Regions from separate parts of the Homo sapiens genome. Here region 2 is linked to region 1. Evidence: promoter capture Hi-C in human tissues and cell types (Jung and others, 2019). All regions are on one chromosome and are shown on one strand. The core of a region is centred on a gene start or on the middle of the fragment in contact, and the rest is flanking DNA. Distances in the headings are between cores, read along the strand shown.

Region 1 (5,928 bases), core at 1,967-4,466:
TAGATATACTTGCAGACTAGACATCACAAATGCTTTTGAAACATGGCAGGTTATTAACTAAACAAGTAACTCACTTGTGGACTAATTTTAAATGCATGTGTCCTTGCTTTTTGAATATGGTAACTGAGAAAAGTAAACCCTCCTGTAAACCTAATACCATTTAGCTTGTTCAGCCACACACTGTGCTTTTTGAGGTATAAATTCTAGCAATAAAATATCAATTTTTTGAAGTATCGACCCCCAAAGTGCCAGCTGGTATGATTGATTATCTGTGATGCGCCATTTCACTCTACTCTTCCGGAAGTACAAAGACACAGGTTAAGCAGAGAAGATATGGCAGATAAGGAAAACCCCAGGAAAAGGAAACCAGTGGTATCCTTTTGTGGGGATCACAGAGACTTGATAAGGGAAGAAGTTTGGCCTTTATAGGATTCAAATTCATTTTTAATCAATTGTAAGTAAAAATGCCAAAGATGATTCACCTCTTTCTTGACCCAGCCAGACTTCTGCAATCTGATTTCTTGTTTTCATTTATGCAAAAAAAAGGAACAATATGCCCACTGTGAACTAATTTGGTGATGTTTCTGGAAAGTAAGTGGGGAAAGGGGGAAGCAAAGTAGTCCCCCATCCCACTGTAGCTGATATATCTGAGGTTATCTTATGTACTCCTGTAACGTGCTGCTTTCTGCCATGCTGGATGATTTCCAGTGGAAACTGGTAAATCAAACCAGAGACTCCTTCGAGAACAGCAATGGAACTTAACAGGCAGTGTAGGAACCCAGGATTCCCTTGACTCAGCTAATCCCTCACAAGGCCACTGCCTGGGACTGCCTCGTTGATGCACGAAAGAGGAACCAGTAGCATTCCTTTGTATCCTCCCTGTCCCCTTACGTTGTGGCACTTGAAATTACTGTTTAAGGAGGGTTTGGTTTCTTCGGCCCTCAAGAAAGATGTAATGAATGAAATAGTGGAACAAACCAGCTCCGTTTAAGCAGATAATGCTTGTTTATTTAGACTAGAGGACTTATAAAAATATATAGATTCCAGATTGCACCTTAGGCATCAGACTGTGCAGTTGGGGCTCGGGAATCTACATCTTTACAATATGGCCTAGGTAATTATGATTCTTAGCTAAGTTTGAAAACTGAGGGACTAGATTTTCAAATATACCCCTAAATCCTACCCAGATTTTAGTTTTAAATCTATTTCTTTCTCCTTAGGCTCTAGTCAGAGACAAAGTAGGATACTCCTCCCTTTCCCAGGCCTTTATATCCATAGAATGAGTGTTGAATAATTTATCCCATTGCTTAGCAAACATTTGTTTCATATGCTAAATGAAGACACAAACCCAGAAATGTTAAGTGGCTGGGTCAAGGTTGCACTGTATATGAATGAGAACACCATGGCAAGAAAGCTGGATGTCTTAGCCTCCATGGCCAGATGACCACCCTTTTTTTTTCTCTTTTTTTCCTGAGTAAGAAAAATGGAGGCATCTAGGGGGCTTCCTTGAAAAAATCAGACATAAATTAGGGTAAGTGTAGATGTTCATCTCCAAGCAACATTTCTCTCTGAGATGAACCTATAGATTAAAAAAGACTTGAGAAACATATCAACCAAATACAATGTGTGGACCTTTGGGTCCCAATTTGCAAAAAATGTAAAGATAAAAAAGTTTATGAGACAATCAGGAAAATAAGAACACTGTGTGGATGCTTAATTACATCAAATAATCATATTTAATTGTTATGTGCGTGACTATCTTATTATGGTTATCTATTTTTAAATCCTCACATTTTAGAAATATACACTGAAATATTTATTAATGCAATGATGTCTGGATGCTTCAACTCCAGTGGTGTAATAAGGGGGAGAACAGCTATAATGAAACACATAGTTTTAAGACACGATTGTCTATGAGTTGATAATATTGAAGCCAAGTGATGAGTATGCAGGGCTTATTGTGCTATTCTCTCCTATTCATGTATTTTTAAATTTTTTCATCATAAAACATTTTAAATGTATTTCTCAAAAGGGCTGGCTTACAGTTTTGTAGGTTATTTAACTTACCTGTATAATAATATGCTTATTAGTGAGGTACATAACTTGATAGAATAACAATAACTTTACATATTCAGGAAAAATCACCTTGTCTCTCCACCATGGCTTTTGTGGAAGATGAGATGAATAGCAGACATTTAAAGTAGAAACTATGACTCTCCAATAACAAGACTCTCTTTCAAAGTAGCACAACACTTCTGTCATCTGTTACACTGTGATTAGCCTAAAACTGCAGTAGATAGACTACTGAAACAATTAAAGCATTCAAGAATTATAAAAGATCAATCACCTACTTCATAAAAATTTTCATAAACCAGACTATACTTGGGGAATTGTTAATTGCCTCAAAGTAAAATGAGGGCAGCCACCCAGATCTGGTTAGGAGGTAAATTCATTACAGTGTCAAGTTTAACACCAATTTCCAAATGCACATAAGAAGCTGCAGAGTCCAGACTTCGAGGCTAAACAGCTCTGCCTTTCTCCTTAGTCCTGCCCACTACCTTCTTTCTGAATCTGCGAAGAGCTGTGACTCTTGAAGGGCAGGACCTACCAGCATTCATTATGACTTCAGTTATGGCAAGCTCTCAAGTTAAATTAATGGTGTTTGGGGTTTATGTTTCCAAACAGTAAGGAAATAGCCAACGAGTAAAACTGGAAATTACTTTCTCCTATGACCTAGAAGTAGCAATAAGAACTCTAAGTGGGAAACAGAAATAGGACTCTGGAAAGATAATGTTTTGTGTGTTTATTTTTCTTCCAGAACTCCAAATAGTTGCCTTGGCAGGAAGGCTGCCCTCTAACTGCTCCCTTCCGAAGACTAGGAGGTGTTTACAGAAATTGAAAGTTCCAGCAGTACATTTCCATGAGCTCATTACCAGTTCCATTTATACCTTTTAGATTTCACATGCACAAATGAATGTCCTTGCAGTATAAACTCCTGCTTTCAGCTTGCATTTTAATTACAAACAAAGTAGCAGAAATCAGGTACTCAGTTACTGTAACATAAGGGCAGGGCATCTTTAGAATCTGTGCTTTGTTCACTATTATTCAAAGCAGCTCCAATGCCCGTCTTGCCTGCCTCTTTATGCTAATCATCCTAGCCCACTTTGCTCCTCCTCCTTCCAGAGTCCCTTAAGAACTGTACACTTTCAGCTGTCACAGAGGGTAACTCAGATCAGGCTTAGAAATCACTTGACTTAACTCAGCAGCACTTTTTCTTTTCTTTGTGTCTGTATTATTTTAGCAGCCTTCTCTAAATACTGGAGGCATTGGATTTCATGTCGCCAAAAGGAATTTAAAAATGACAAAAGTGTAATCTGTTAGAAATAGTTAATTTGTAGAATTTTACTCTATAAGGAGGTTTAGTTTCAATTTGTTTTGAAATGAAGGAATTAAGTTGTGTTTTTAACCAAATGAATTGGCATCTTTATATTTAGGAGAAGTAACATTGGTGATTATTTATTTCAAGAATCATGACTGGAAAAAGCTTGGAAGTTTAGTAGAGGAGTATATGTTGTACATGCAAAGACAAGATCTGCATGAATCTATGTATTTCTGGGTGTCTGGTGAAGGCCACTTTAGGTGACTGGCCAGAGAAGGAGGTGCCCTAGTGATCCTTGAGTCACAGCCATACTGCTAGGACCATGACTACCATACCAAGAAAAGGCAGCAGCCACCTGCCTGGCAGTTTGCACACCTGTAAACTGAAGCTGCAGGAGGACCGGCGACAGCAAGGTGAGTCCGTCCAGCTCATGAGTTGCATATTCTGTGACCTTCTGTGCATTTGCATTCCAGGAAGAATGGTGGGCTGGTGAAGGACCCGGGGAAGCTCTGACATAATAGTGATGCATAAGGGTGGGTTAACTTGGATTCACTATTGATTTTTAGAGGACTATGGAAGACTGTCAAGAATGCATATTCCTTGGAGCTGTCATTCTGAAACTTACATGCTTAAACTTCTAGCCACTGTGTTTTTTAGAGTATGCTAGATTTTGTCTAATTCAAAACACCCATCTGAGCAAGGCTGAGTCAGCTACAAGGGGGATTTCAGCTGAGAGTAGCTTTAAGTTAGCCTGGAGCTTTCTCTACCATAGTACCACTGGTGGGACACTTTTTTCACTTTGTTTAAGCCTAAGTTTGTCTGGATCTCTGGCTCATTCATTGTGGGAAAAATAAATATATTCTTGACTCTTTCCTTTTTATGGTCCAGGGACATCTGGAGACAGTCAGGGAAAAGTGTCACATTTCACTTGCTGGGCACTCATTCAAACTAAACTATCTACCTCCCAGCCATTTTCACCATCAGTCTTTTTAAATTTTCAAATCCACTCTCCAGCCAGCTGAGTTAGTGTCAGATGGTTGACATGAATAGACAAGATGATCCCTCCAATCCACCCTGTCAGGGACAGCAAATGACACTTGTGGGAAAGGCTGGGTCTCTCATGGATGACATCATCACTCCACAGAGGTTAAGGATTCACCAGACACTTCTAACTTCTCCTCAATAACCTAGGATAGATCTTTTTATGTGTAGGTCTAGGCAATGAGCTCTTTAATTATTTTTCTGTAGACGCAGTTTTAGATTTCAGTGGTGTGGAGAGTGTTGGCTAAAGGGCCAAAACCTCCCATTTCCAAGATGGAATCTGTGTGCTAACAGTCACATGAATGTGTCAGGCCACCTCTCTGCATCGGTTCCTGGAGCTGTATAACATGACTTCATGCTCTACAAGGCTTAGCATAGTGTCGGCAGAAAATACTTCATGGTAAATGAAAACAATGTGAACTTTTAGACCATGCTTTACTACTAGTGCTCAAATAAATTTTGAACCAAGTACCCTAGAATGTAAAGTCCTGGAATGTGTCAGGGTTAAGGCATAGCACTGTAAAATGCTCTTGCTTCTCTGTTAGTAAACAATTCTAGTTTATCAGAGGTTTTTGTTTTCTGTTGACTTTGTATGAAATGTTAAAGTGACTTCCCCCCACTTCAATTGCTAATATGATAATTTTAATAGAAAATTTGGTGGGGGTGAGCCTAAAGAAGTCACCTGTAACCCCACCACCCAAAGATAATTGCTATTAACATTTTAATGTATAAACTTCTAGACTTTTCTTCTATGCACTTGTATGGATTATTCCTTTGCTTGCTTTTTAAACAATATAGACTTGTTCTGGATACTTTTGTAAACAGTGTTTTGTAAACTGCTTTTTAATTTAATGACAGAGGATGAACAAATTTCCAGGTCATTAAATATTCTTCTACAACCTTATTTTTAACAGTTGCACACTGTTCCTTTATATGGATGTAGCAAAATTCCCTTAGGCAATTCTCTACTGTTAGATATATTATTTATTTCTAATATTTTAACTATTATAATTAACACTGGACTGCACCTAAACTAATGAATAGATCTTTGCACTGATATGGGATTATTTTCTTCGCATAAATTCTTAGAAGTGAAATTGTGGAGTCAAAGGATTATACATTCTTAAAAATTGTTTTTGGCCAAGTGACCCTCCTATCAGCAGTGTTGGGGTATGTTCTCAGTAATACTATTATTTTTTAAACTCCTTCTCAATTTTATAGGTGAAAAATAATACCCCACTATTGTTTTAAGCCAGGCTATCCTGAAGATCTCTCCTTTACTGGCTGTATTAATCAAAGTTCTCTAGAGGGACAGAACTAATAGGATATATACACACACACACACACACACACACACACACATATATGTATGTGTATATATATACAGATATACGTATGTGTATATATGTGTGTATATGTATATAAAGATGAGTTTATTAAGTATTAACTTACACAGTCACAAGGTCCCACAATAGGCTGTCTGCAAACTGAGGAGCAAGGAGAGCCAG
Region 2 (5,928 bases), core at 2,566-5,065, 130 kb after region 1:
AAAGACTCGAATTTCTACCCACTCATGAGATCCTAGCAATTATTTTCTATAGCTTTATACATCTTACCAGAGGACATCTGTCCTGGAGCAGTAGTTTTATACTACTTAAATTTTAAGATCTATTCTGCAGATGTTTGATTCAAATCTTTTTCAGAATAATAAAAACTATAATAAACAAAACACACTCAAATAAGCTAGTACTAACATCAAGATATGGTTGATGTGTGTTGCTGGTTTAACTAGGTTTTGTAGAGCCCACAAACTGAATGTTGGCCTGAGACGGTGAAGCCATTTAAAAAACTTGCCATTTGTAATCACTTATCTTTGCAAATCAAGATTTTCTCATTAACATACAAGTAAAATAAAGCGTAACTGAATATTAAGGTTTTTAAAGACTGCTCCCTGCTACCTTTGACTTCTAATGCCTGTTTTCATCTAAAAATCCTCGTTGCCCTCTTGGACTGAATAAAAAGTAAAAGTCATAAATATGAACTTATTAACAGAGTTTATAATAGTTTTTCAACCTTGGAACTGATGTTTGGACCAGATTATTGTGCATGCTATTCTCCATCCTATACACCGTCCACCAGCATCCTGGCTTCCGCCCATGAGAGACCATCAGCACTCCTACAGCTGTGACAATAAAAAATGTCTCCAGACATTGACAAATGTCCCCGTACAGACAAAATAGCCCCTAATGAACAACCACTACTTAATACTAATCAAATGCTACATTTATGTATTTTTATGTTGGGGTTTACCTAACCATTTAGTTGATTAAAAGTTTTTCTGCTTAAAAATACATTGTTTTCAAGTGTAAAGGTTTCTACTGTTAGATCCTGAATTCAAACCTTGGCTCTAGCTCACTAGCTGTTTACCTTTACCTAACCATTCTGATTAGCAGCTACCTCATCTGAAAAAGGGGACTAACACATGCACTGGATTAAATGAGAAAACTTATGTGGAGGAATGATTAGGAGAAGCTCAATGAATCTCATCTATTATGTTGTGAAGGCCTCAGTGGTCCAGGCTTGGAAGCTCTAACCTGATTTCTGGAGATTCTTTCTGTAGCCGCTAAGATTCAGCTGGGTGATGGTCTCTGACACATGCGCAACAGCCACCTGTACATGCTTTTCAGTGAAATCAAAACACCAGGAGAGGTTCAGCTCATCCAGTCTGCACAAAAGAGGGGTAATAAACAAAATATGAAACCATCACACGGGAATGAGTTTGCCTCAAACTGCAAACAAAGAAAATATAAAACCATGGATTCCTTATCATTTCATGCACAGAACACCTGCTTCTCTAACAGTAGCTACCTTTAGTCACCTAAGTATACCCTGTTTGCCCCTGAAAGTTGCCAGGGGATCAGAAGGGCCTTAGTGAATGTGCCTCCTCCTCGAAATGGAGAGAAGCACCTGATGGCTCAAACCTTATTCCAGTACTGCAGGTAGAAATGCCAGTCTTTTATGTTTGCTTTCTCAAACTACCAACCACCCAACACAGACTGAACAATCACTCAGGATGTTTTACGCAATTGATGGATTGCACTGAGGATTCCTAATAAAGAGATGCTGATATTGCAAAAAGCCACTTCGTCTTACTGTGCTTCTGCTAACTGAGCAAAAACGAGGGTTTCAGAGACAAAATACAACCATTAATCCCCACTCCCCACTTCTGGCACTGCTGACTAAATATAGGGCTATACATTTGATCTCACTGATAACACGCATATCCAGAGGCAATCTATTTTAAATGGACCATTAACAAGACACAGATTCAAATGCTGTACCATGGAGACCAAGGGATATTTTTAAAAAACACACATATGCCTAGTACTGTGTATTCCAAAAAGCATGTACTCCCCTCACTTAGCAATATCTGTAACTCTGTACCCTTTATGTGCTGACATTATTATGAAAGATATTGTTAATAGAATTGCCCAAATTTACGGTCTATATTTATAAAACACCAAATTTGATAAAAAATTGTAAGTTAGGTCTACAGATACCATAGGGGAAAAAACCTGAATGTACAGTTAAGTGTGAGCAAATTTCTTACAACCATACTGTTGATAGACACTACTACACTTCCCTTATTTTAACAGTTCCAAATAAACAAAAAAGAGATCACTATACAAGTATCACTTGCAAACTCAATTGACTTGGCTCCTGAGTTTGGACAGAAAGTTAGGAGGGCAAAAGATTTTGCATTCACCAAATCAAGAGCCTGGAAAGTACAAAAAGCTCAAAAAGTTCATCCCATTTTATACAGATGTGAGGGATAATTTTACGTTTGACATAAGAGTCTATAATCAAGTCTCACATCTTTCATACCTGGAACAGCTGCTTAGCAAAGTCTGCAGGGCAAATTCAGAGAATCCAGAACACCCAGAAAGGTTAAGTCGCACTAAATTTGAGTTTTTTGCGAGAGTACTGGAAAAAGAGAAAAACGTCAGAAGAAAAAGACCAGTAAGACACTATTCATCAACAACATTTAGATGAAAGCAGGCGAGTGTAGTTAAGCTCACAGGTCTTTGAGTCAGTGAGTTTAAAATGTATATCACTATCTCTCAGACATCAAACAGGATAATTTGCCTCAGTTTACTCATTTGTGAAATGGTATTATCAAACTTCTTGGCAGAGTTATTAAGAAGATTAAATGATATAATGTAATAAAAGACTTACTATGAAGCAAATACACAAGAATATCAATCAATGTACTTTTTGAATTAAAAAGACAATGGAATAAACATATATCCATTTCACCCATAATTAGAATTAGCTTGCAAACATCTACTTGTAAAATCACCAGGTTCTTTTGATTATACATCTCTCAAATTTGCCATCTTCTCTAATACATCCCCAAATGCCCTGTGTTAGTAAAACTTAGTGATTAAGAGTAAGAATTCTGGAATATTGTATCACTAGGTTCACATGTTGGTTCAGCCACCTACTAACAATGTGACCCTGGAAAAGACTTACTCAGTCTCCCTGTGTCTCAGTTTCCACAACTATAAAAAGGAAACAAGATCACACTTCATAGGGTTGCTGTCAGAATTAAATGAAAATGCATTTACAAAATTCACTATCTGGCACATAATACATGCCCCAAAACATTAGCTGCTATTACTGCTATCTGTTTTATATCAGACTTCACCTTTTCTCACTTGAACGAACACAGCAGTATCCTTAACTACTCTAGCTTCTTCTATCCTCGATGGACCCTCCATGGTACCTGGCAAGTTAATTTCCTAAATTTCAACTCTTGACTTGTTCCTTCCATTCTCAGAACAACTCTCTCCACCATCCTTCCCTTTTTTTATTTTTTTTTCAGATGGAGTTTTGCTCTTGTCACCTAGGCTGGAGTGCAATGTTGTGGTCTCAGCTCATGGCAACCTCCGCCTCCCGGGTTCAAGCGATTCTCCTGCCTCAGCCTCCTGAGTAGCTGGGATTACAGGTGCCTGCCACCACACCCAGCTAATTTTTGTATTTTTAGTAGAGACAGGATTTCACCATGTTGGCCAGGCTGGTCTCAAACTCCCAACCTCAGGTGATCTGCCCACCTTAGCCTCCCAAAGTGCTGGGATTACAGGTGTGAGCCACCACACCTGGCCCATGCTTCCCTCTTAATGGAAGAGTCCAGTCCATTCTTCTTACAGCAAGGCGTAGGGGCCCATTACAATCTGGTCCCTGACTCTCCTCACCTTGTCACTCTCCTCCCTTAGTCCTGTGCTCCAGCAACTTCCAACTACGTAAGAGTTTAGAACCACACAGGAAGTTTTACCTAGACTGGTTGCTTTGTCTTATTACCTAGAGATCTCCTACCTAGATATCTTCAATACTCAAGAGTCACTTCCTCTAACAAGGCGGCTCCTCGTGTGTTGCCACATATTCACTGAAACATTTAATAAACACACTGCATGGTAATTATCTGTCTTGCTCATAAATAGTTTACCTTCTTGCAAGAGAAAATAGACATGTCTTGCTCAATGTTTCCTCTTGCAAGAAGGTAAACTATAGCTTAACCAGCATTCACTAACAAGGTGGGAAAAGTTTTAGAGCATTCATTTTCTTCCCAAATAATACACATGCATTGTTCATCCTTGTACTTGTATCTCTAGAACCTAGCACAGGGCCTGGCATATAGTTAGCATTCAAGCTTTTGTTGCTTCAATGAGTCCTGAAAAGTTTTGCAGAAGCTAGAGCACTGCACTAGATATTTTCTGTATCCACCTGGATATGGCTAGAAGGGCACCCCAGTTATATACAGGGAAAAAAATTCATACACATAAAATCAACTGCCTTTGTGACACTCTGCCTGCCACTCACTTGACAATGGGATCCGAAAGCCGCAGGCCTTCCAGGCTTAGATTCTGCAACTTGGAACACTGAGACAGTATGCCGTGGAGGGTGGACACTTCTATAACTGAGTTCGATAGGTCCATGTGCTGTACACGAAAAGGGCTAAACACGGAGAGAAAAAAGGAGCTCCATAGGTGGCTCTCACGGGTACATCCAATTTCAAACCAGACCCCTCTTCTCCCCAAATGAGCAGCCAATCACAAACAAGACTCTAAATACATACTTCAAGCATTAACTATAGGGTCATAAAACATATTGCTACTAGTGTATTCCCATCTTCATTCATTTTAAAATGCAAGAGGATTTTTGCCAAGTACAGATGTTGCTGCCAATATAGTCCCACTTAGAAAATAACGAGTGGGCATCACAACAATGAGCTGGATGTGGGTGACAAGGAGATTAAGACCATAACGGCTCCTGGTTTCTGGCAGGGGTGAGTGGGTGAGCAGCAATAGAACAGGGAAGGTAGCGGAAGAGAAAGTTTTAAAGGGAGACCAGGCTGGGCGCAGTGGCTCACGCCTGTAATCACAACACTTTGAAAGGCTGAGTCCAGTGGATCACGATGTCAGGATATCAAGACCAGCCTGGCCAGCATGGTGAAACCCAGTCTCTACTAAAAATACAAAAAATTAGTTGGGCGTGGTGGCGCACACCTGTAGTCCCCAGGTGCTCGAGAGGCTGAGGCAGAATTGCTTGAACCTGGCAGGCAGAGGTTGCAATGAGCCGAGATCACGCCACTGCACTCCAGCCTGGGTGACACAGCAAGACTCCGTCTCAAAAAACAAAAACAATAAAAAAAAAGGGAGGCCAAATTTGAGTTATGCTAATATTGAAGTCCTTGTAAGAAATTCAGGTACAGACGTTTTTAGGTAATTAGAAATTTGGGAATTTGAAAGGGAGGGCCAAGCTATAGATGAGGAACTGAGAGTCCTGGGCATAAATGTGGGTGTAGAGGACACAGCTTGTCCAGGGACAGCATTTGGATTTGAAAAAGGTGGCAGCCAGGAACCGACCCTGGAGTGAACAGAGGAAATCACATATGTGAAGGAGACTGAGAAGGAACAGCCACAGGAGGAACAGGATAAAAAGCAGTGGGAGAGGCGGTCCTGACTACGGAAAGAAGGGAAAAAGTACTGGAGTCAGGAGACATGTTTTATCTTTAGCTTTGTTGTCTTCAGCTTGTTTTTCTGTTCAGTACCTAGTTATTCTACTATGTGATAGCAGTAACCTCAGTATTGCAAAATTATCAGAACAGAAAATTCTTTTTCAAAATATTCTACAAAACAAACAAAAAGAGGGCATTTTTTTCAGGTTCCAAATTTCTCCAAGACAAAAATCATAAACCCCAAGCTACAAACATGAAAAGACTCCTCACTTTTTTTTATTTATCAGAAATGGGCATTGGGGAAGTAACTGGGCACCCTTGCATCTGCCAGTGAGTGCTTTACTTGTGCCTGCCTTGTGGGACTCACAGTCCCCCTATCAGCTGAGGACTTGAGAAGACAAATGTGCCTCTTTCACCCTGGGAAGAGACTAACAGTAAACTTGAGTGAAATGGGAACAG

What was found. Contacts are between HindIII fragments. The study calls those that stand out against the background at their distance.
Region 2: a contact is called between a fragment that was not itself captured here and the fragment with the promoter of RANBP3L in region 1, in 1 of the 25 tissues and cell types used here (mesenchymal stem cells).

Annotation. Positions count from the first base shown.
Region 1 is chr5:36,299,190-36,305,117 of GRCh38, reverse strand. It overlaps RANBP3L (RAN binding protein 3 like), which reads left to right and starts at 3,216. Exons shown (of 14, transcript NM_145000.5): 1 at 3,216-3,792. The coding sequence starts at 3,702. All of the region lies in intron 1 of LOC124900962 (a long non-coding RNA gene), which reads right to left. The HindIII fragment of the contact is 10,640 bases long and covers 1-5,587 here.
Region 2 is chr5:36,166,851-36,172,778 of GRCh38, reverse strand. SKP2 (S-phase kinase associated protein 2) reads right to left here. Exons shown (of 10, transcript NM_005983.4): 5 at 4,332-4,466; 6 at 2,337-2,435; 7 at 1,046-1,176. Among named protein-coding and RNA genes, the nearest start is that of SKP2, 18 kb to the right of the region's middle. The HindIII fragment of the contact is 5,640 bases long and covers 996-5,928 here.